Linked DNA regions of Homo sapiens: region 2 is linked to region 1. The links are contacts of gene promoters, found by promoter capture Hi-C in blood cells and fetal thymus (Javierre and others, 2016). All regions are on one chromosome and are shown on one strand. Each heading gives the region's core, a stretch centred on a gene start or on the middle of the fragment in contact. The rest is flanking DNA. Distances are from core to core; before and after follow the strand shown. Region 1 holds the start of LAMB3 (laminin subunit beta 3). Region 2 overlaps HSD11B1 (hydroxysteroid 11-beta dehydrogenase 1).

Region 1 (3,552 bases), core at 1-2,500:
ATGTGACTCACAGGGTGCCCTGGGAAAATCCCATCCCTTCCCAGACTCCAGCTTCCTCCTCTAAAATGGATGGGAAGGAGTGTGGACCCTGCCCTACCCCACACAGCCGTAAGGACAACGTGGGGAGCAGGAAAAGGCTGGACCCTTTGCAGGAGAAAAGCTGTAGAAAGGGCCAAGACCTAGTTCCAGCCCCAAGAGAGAGGGCTGGCTTTTCTCAGGGCCTAGACCAGCAGCCTCAACCCAGCCCCGCCCAAAGTGAATGAGTCAGAGTGGCTGACGGCCTGGAGGCAAACCTTCTCCTGTCACGGGCATGGCCTCCAATACCATTCAGGGCCACTTTGAGTTTGAGGCTCTGTGCCCACAATTCTGGGATGCAACAGGGAGAGATGTATGGCTGTCTTTAACAAGTGAGTGAGGGTTTCTTCTGAAAGGGAAGCAACCCAAAATGTCTTCAATGATGGGCTGGGGCTCGACAAGAGGGGTGGGGCTGGGAGGCCACAAAGCAGGGATTCTGAAGGAGGCTGGGGAAGGATGCTCGAAAGCCACCGTGGGGTCCCAGAGGCAGGCCTGCCTTGTGGAAACATGCCCCACCCTTGCTCATGCAGTGACCCTTCTGCCTTGAATTGGATGTTCACTCTGTTCCAATGACAGCCACAAACTCTTTTGGCTGGGGTGGAGGGCTGGGGGCTTGGCAAGGCAGGGGCGGGGGGGGAAATTGAGGACATTTCTGGCATCTTTAAATTATAGATCCTAATGCTTCAAAATCATTCCTTCCAATCCCTCTCCTAAAAGAGTCATGGGCCCAGGGAGGGAACATGTGGCCTGGGGTCCCACAGCTAACGATGGCCTAAGAGAGACCCATCTTCTGACTTTCATCCAGTGCTTTCTCAGCTTTCCCACCCCTGACTGAAAATCCCCCTGCAAGTAGGCATTCTGAGCCAGGCCAGCCCACCCTTCTCACTTCTCTTTTGTGCTCAACCCCGGATCTGAACCTGCTTTCTTCTAAGCCACTGAGGTGCTTATCAAATGTGAAAAAGAAATCAAAACTGTAGCAGACATTTTAACCTAGCTCACCTGAGTGAGCTCCCAGGAAGAGGAATAAATCAGGCCCTGAAACCAGGCCCCAGGCATCCAGAGATACAGTCCTCCTCCCGCATCCGGCCCGCACCAGGCAGGTAAAGACAGGTAACATACCTTGCTGTGTGTTCTGCCGTTCTTTCTCCAGATCGCCTGAAAGCTCCTCTTGAATGTGGGGGTCTCCCCTCCCGGCTCCAGGTTTTTAAACAACAGCCTCACCTCTGGAGACTCCCTGGCTGGGTGTAGCCCCACCGCAGGGCGGGTCTCAGGAATCTGGCAGCCGTCACACCCATCTGTCGTCACTGCACCCCCACCTCCCAGGACGGGACTGGGCAAGTGGGTTGGTCGGTCCGTCCCAGAGTTCTTGTAGTGAGCTCCACAATGCCCACCTGCCTGTGGGGGCTGCAAGGGGCCCCTCAAACAGAAAGCACAAGGCACATGTAAGTGATCATCAGAGACCAGAATTCACAGGGTGGGGAAGGGCCCTTGCATTTGTGCCAGGCAATGAACTCAGCATTTTCCCAAAGCCAGCAGGGGTCAGCTTCTTCTTGTGACCTGGACCACCCCAGACAGAAGATCAGGCAGAGAACACAAAGATTAGGGCTTATATAGAGAGTTAAAGCTCCAGACATATCACCGGGCTGGAAGGTGAGAAGACTCAAACATCCAGGACCCTGGAAAGCACCATTCCCCTCCCCAGTGAAAAAAAAAATGAAAAATCCCAGCTTCTTGGGGCATTTGGAGGATCCTTAAAAGGCAAGGTTCATCAGGAAGGATTCAAAGCTCAACTCATCCAAGGAAAGCTTAAGAGAAATGAGCAGAGTAACTAAATGGCTCGCCTCCAGCTCCCTCCACAGGGTTGGCAGGGAGCCCTGGGACAGGTAGCTGCCTGTGAGTCACTCCTCCCACCTGTGGGGAGGGTTAGTCTCCTAGCCCCTCCCTCCCTAGGCAGGAATGCCCGCCTGGAGGGCCAGAAAACAGACCTGACCACAAGTGGTGGAAGGAAAGGCTGAAGCATAGCTTGACTGACAAAGTCAAAACAGACTTTCCCTGGCCTCCTGCCAGGCCTGAGAACACAGCTTCTTTTGTGGGCTCCTTGCTCAGGGATCCTGGGCTTCCAGCCACTGTAAATGGAAGTGGCAGGTCCAAATTGAGAGGCTGGTCTCACAGGACACTCTTTCCCCCAGGTTAGGGTCAGAGAGCTTTTAGGGAAACCTGGAGGGTCAGCCAGTCCATATCTTGGCCCTGGAGAGCCTGCACTGGCACCGTTTTGGAATGCTAGGACCTCAAAGCTACTATTTAAAGGAGCTTCTTAACTACGATTCCACTTTGTTAGTGTCTCCTAAACAGAAAGTTCTCCACCATTGGAGGGTTATGTCCAAGAAATTGGCTTGAAGACCCTTAAGGGGGAAATGTAGAATTTTGTGGATTAAATTGGGCATTTCTAACCCTCAGATTCGAATTAAGCATAAGTTCAGGTAGGCAGAAGAAATAGTGTAATTAGCAAGTGGGCAGTGAGTTGTTGATGTAAGTTGATGCATAATTGATAGTCCAATAAATGTTAGAGTCTTGCCCCCTGTAAGCATTCCAGTGAAATCTAGCTCAACTCAGCAAGTAAGGTCAGTAGAAGCAGTGTCCCTTCAACACAGAGAGACCTCCCTCAAGTCCCCCACCGAGAAAGGTCAGCTCTGACTCTGACACACCTGTGTTTTCAGTTCTCCCACCTGGTGGTCTCTTTCTCTCCACTTCCCCAACTCCCTGAACTCAGAGCGCTCATGAAACTTTCGCCCTCTGCCCATCACCAGAGGATGTGACAAAGAACTCATTAATAATTAACTCAGCAGAAGAGAGCAGGTGTTGCAATCCCAGATCCTCAGAGGAGAAAAGGCAGGGCAGGTGTGCGGTGGGCCTCACCATGAGTAGCTGGGGCCCCTTAAATCCTCCTCCTCCTCCCTTTATCTGAGGCCATGAGCCCAGGTAAATACACATTCGGTGTCTCAGACTTCACAGGCTTGGGCAGGTCCTGGAGTGGTTTGGCTTCGCAGGAGGGACATGCCAATTGCTGTGCTTGGCTCTCCCCTACACTCCCGGCAAAGTCCAGGAAGCTGTTTATGCAGACCCCCAAGAGCAGCCCAGCCAGCCTCACTCCTGAGGGACACTGATCATTTCCAAGTGGGGATCCAGTCCCCCAAGAACTCCAGGGCTCCAGGCACAAGCTCTGGAGCTTCAGAACCCAATTTGTTCAGTCAAGTAGCCTAAAATAGAGCCTGAGGCCAGATCAGGGTCCAGCTAAGATTAAAGGGGTGTGGTACTGTGGCTGGAGCCCCTCAGCCTCCCCTGTGTGCACACCTTTCCTCTCTCCCTGCGCCCATCCTCCTACAACAGAGCACTTATCTGCCCTAGAGCCTTGACTTATTAGAATGTGTGCTCAGGAAAGTGGCTAGTGAAGTCATCCCAGACTTCAGTATCTTTCAA
Region 2 (3,552 bases), core at 312-2,811, 76 kb after region 1:
TCTGCTTTCACTTTCTCTCTTCTCTTACCTCCTTCTCCTACAAAACCATTTAGGATTCTTCTATGTACCTTGAGCATAACCTGAGGCATAACTAAGGATAGGCAATGTGATGCATGAGCTCCATAAGTGGTATAAAAATAACTGCTCTAGGAATTCAGACTATGGCTTCGCAGGATATCTTGCTTCTGTATCTCTGTTGCCACCTAGACAAACACATTAAATGTCATAGTCAATATCTTTATTGTCATCTAGGGGTGTGTAGTGGGCTGAATGGTGGTCCTCCCCCAAAAGATATATCCACCTAGATCCTGTGAACGTGACCTTAAGTGGACACATAGAAAGTCCTTGAGGATGTAACTAAGATCTCAAGATGAAATCATTCCCGATTATCTGAGAGGCCCTGAATCCAATGACAAGTAACCTTATATGAAGAGTAAAAGACACAGACAGAAGAGAAGAAAGTGATGTGAAGATGGAGGCAGAGACTGGAGTTGCCAGCACAACTCAGCTCCAACTGCCAGCAGACATTAGAAGCTAGAAGAGAAAAAAGAAGGATTCCCTGCTATAGGTTTTGGGGGGAGCATGGCTGTGCTGATAACTTGGTTTTGGACTTCTGGATTCCAGTTCTGTAAGAGAACACATTTCTGTAGTCTTACGCTACCAAGTTTGTGGTAATTTGTTATGGCAGCCCAGGGAAATGAATACAAAGGGACTAGGAGTGACTAGCCCTGTTTATTTATGGGTATCCTCATCTGTCAGCTTAGAAGTGAAAATAATACTGCTATTCATAAATTTTGCCTATTTTGGACTCGACTATCAAAAGAGAGAGAATCCTCACCAATGCAGAAAGAACTGGATTTAACACATGGCTCCTGGAAAACACTCATATAAAGAACAGTGCCTTCTGTAGAGGAAGTACCACCTAGTGTTCAAGAGTGTGGGCCACTAGAGTCAAATTTGAATCCTGGTTTGAATCCTGCTTCTCCCACTCATTAACCTTGAAACTTTGAGCATTTATCCTTTAGATTCTACACTGGCACATAAGAGCTAAATAAATGTTAGTTCCTATTTAGCTCAATTTCAGAGGTTATTGTGTTTGCTCCATATGCTTGCTTATTTTTGCAGAATACTTGTCTCCGCTTACTTATCCCTCTCCATGGCTGAAATGGCTACCCCAGTCCCAACCTTACATGACCTTTTCATTCAAAATCCAACAGCAGCAATCAGAATCTTTTGGTCACTTATTTCAATTTATTGAAAGAGAGACCACGATGTGTGTTCAAGCCAGTGTGCATATTCGTGATAACTGGGCCAACCTTCCATGGCTAGAAAGATAAAGGCTCTTTGAAGGGGATGAGGGCAGGAAGTCCATGGCAAGCATTTCTAGTACACTGTAGCTTTTCACATTTTATATATTCCAACCTATTTATGTCTTCCTTCATAGTATATGCCTCCAATTTCATGCTTTAAAAAGTATCTCTAACTTTGAGATTAGAAATTCACCAATAGCTTATTTTAGTTTTTTACTTTCCACATATACTCTGTGATCTAATTTGAATTTGTTTATTAGAATGGCACTTTTTTCTCCAAGTAACTAGCTATTTGTCCCAACATGATTTTTTGAATAGCTCATACTTTTCTCACCAATTTGAATACTAATACTGCTAACAATAATAGCATTTTCTGAATGCTTTCTATGTGCCAGAGTTTGTGCTAAGTATATTACATGGGTTACTTCAGCTTGGTTATATTATTATCCACATATTACAGCTAAGAATTGGCATACTTGGGATTCACACCTGGGTCATCTGACTCTAGAGCTCATACTTTTAATTATTATGCTATTCTGATAAGTAATGTGGATCTATTTTTGTCTCAAACAATAAGGAAAATTATTGACATAACTGGAAGTCCAGATGTAGGGCAGGCTTCACAGTTGACTTGGCTGAAGCTCAGTGTCCCCGTGATTCTCTTGGCTCTGCTCTCTTCCATGTGTGGCTTCATCCTCAGGCTGACAATGAGATAGCTGCAGCAATTCCAGCCCCCATATCAATGCACAAAAAATGTGTTGGAAGAAAAAGAGGATTGCTACTCTCAGAAACTCTTCCAGAAAAACAATAACTTTTTGAGACACTCCAACAAAATTTTCTTCAAATCTCATTGGTCCAAAATGAGCCACATGGCCATTCCTGTATCAATCATGAGTAAGAAGAATGGGATAAAATAGATTACATAAGCTCATACCTGCAGTTAGGAATGATGTCAGCTTTCTTTTGGCACATGGGCTGCATAGAAGTGAGGATAACTATCAATAAGAAGTAAGTCCAGCTCTCAGATACAGAAAACCTAAAATAATAGTGGATTCAATAAGTTAGCATTTAGGCCAGGCATAGTGGCTCATGCCTGTAATCCCAATACTTTGGGAGGCCGAGGCAGGTGGATCACTTGAGATCAGGAGTTCAAGACCAGCCTGGCCAACATGGTGAAACCCTGTTTCTACTAAAAATACAAAAATTAGCCAGGTTTGGTAGCTCAAACCTGTAATCCCAGCTACTCGGGAGGTTGAGGCAGAAGAATCACTAGAACTTGGGAGGCAAAAGTTGCAGTGAGCCGAGATCATGCCATTGCACTCCAGCCTGGGCAACAGAGCAAGACTCTGCCTCGGAAAACACACACACACACACACACACACACACACAAGTAAGTTAAAATTTAAATCAGGTCTGAAGGTAGGCAGTATAGGGCCAGTATAGTATGGCAGCTCCATGGTCACCCAGGTTCCTTCCTTCTATCTAAACTATCTAAATGTTTTGCCATCCTCAACACGTGGCTTCTACCTCATGGTCCAAGATAGGTCTGGAGCCATAGCCATTACATCCACCTTCAGACACCAAGAAGGACAAAGGATTGGGAAGGAGAGACTGGCTTCTCCTTTTAAGGATGTGTCCCAACATTGAAACCAAAACTAAAGATACAACAAAAAAGAGAAAACCACAGGCCAATATCCCTGATGAACACAGATGCAAAAATCCTCAACAAAATACTAGCAAACAGAGCTCAACAACATTTTAAAGGATCATTCATTATGATCAAGTAGGATTCATCTTCAAGATGCAAGGATGGTTCAACATAAGCAAATCAATAAATGTGATACATCACATCAACAGAATCAAAGGCAAAAATATATAATCATTTCAGTAGATGATGAAAAAGCATTTGGTAAAATGCAATATCCCTTCATAATAAAAACCCTCAACAAATTGGGTATAGAAGGGATATACCTCAACATCATAAAGGCCATACATGACAAACCTATAGCTAATATCTTACTGAACTGGACAAAATTGAAAGCCTTTCCACCAAGATTTGGACCAAGACAATGATGCCAACTTCCACCACTTTTATTCAACGTAGTACTGGAAGTTCTAGCCAGAGCAATTAGACAAGAGAAAGAAATAAAGGGTATCCCAGTTGAAAAGAAAGAAGTCAAAAACCTCACTGCAACTTAACAAAGAGAGATTCCTTCTTCTCAGGTAATAGTTTAGGGCTGCT

What was found. The method cuts DNA at HindIII sites, captures the fragments that hold promoters and counts their contacts. A CHiCAGO score of 5 or more calls a contact.
Region 2: a fragment that was not itself captured here is called in contact with the fragment with the promoter of LAMB3 in region 1 in 4 of 17 cell types (monocytes, neutrophils, M1 macrophages and 1 more); the score reaches 14.7 in monocytes.

Annotation. Positions count from the first base shown.
Region 1 is chr1:209,651,175-209,654,726 of GRCh38, forward strand. LAMB3 (laminin subunit beta 3) reads right to left here and starts at 1,251. Exons shown (of 23, transcript NM_000228.3): 1 at 1,195-1,251. RefSeq lists an enhancer at 753-1,952. The HindIII fragment of the contact is 2,819 bases long and covers 1-1,878 here.
Region 2 is chr1:209,726,696-209,730,247 of GRCh38, forward strand. All of the region lies in intron 4 of HSD11B1 (hydroxysteroid 11-beta dehydrogenase 1), which reads left to right. The region is part of intron 1 of HSD11B1-AS1 (HSD11B1 antisense RNA 1); the gene reads right to left. Among named protein-coding and RNA genes, the nearest start is that of HSD11B1-AS1, 14 kb to the right of the region's middle. The HindIII fragment of the contact is 5,210 bases long and covers 1-3,552 here.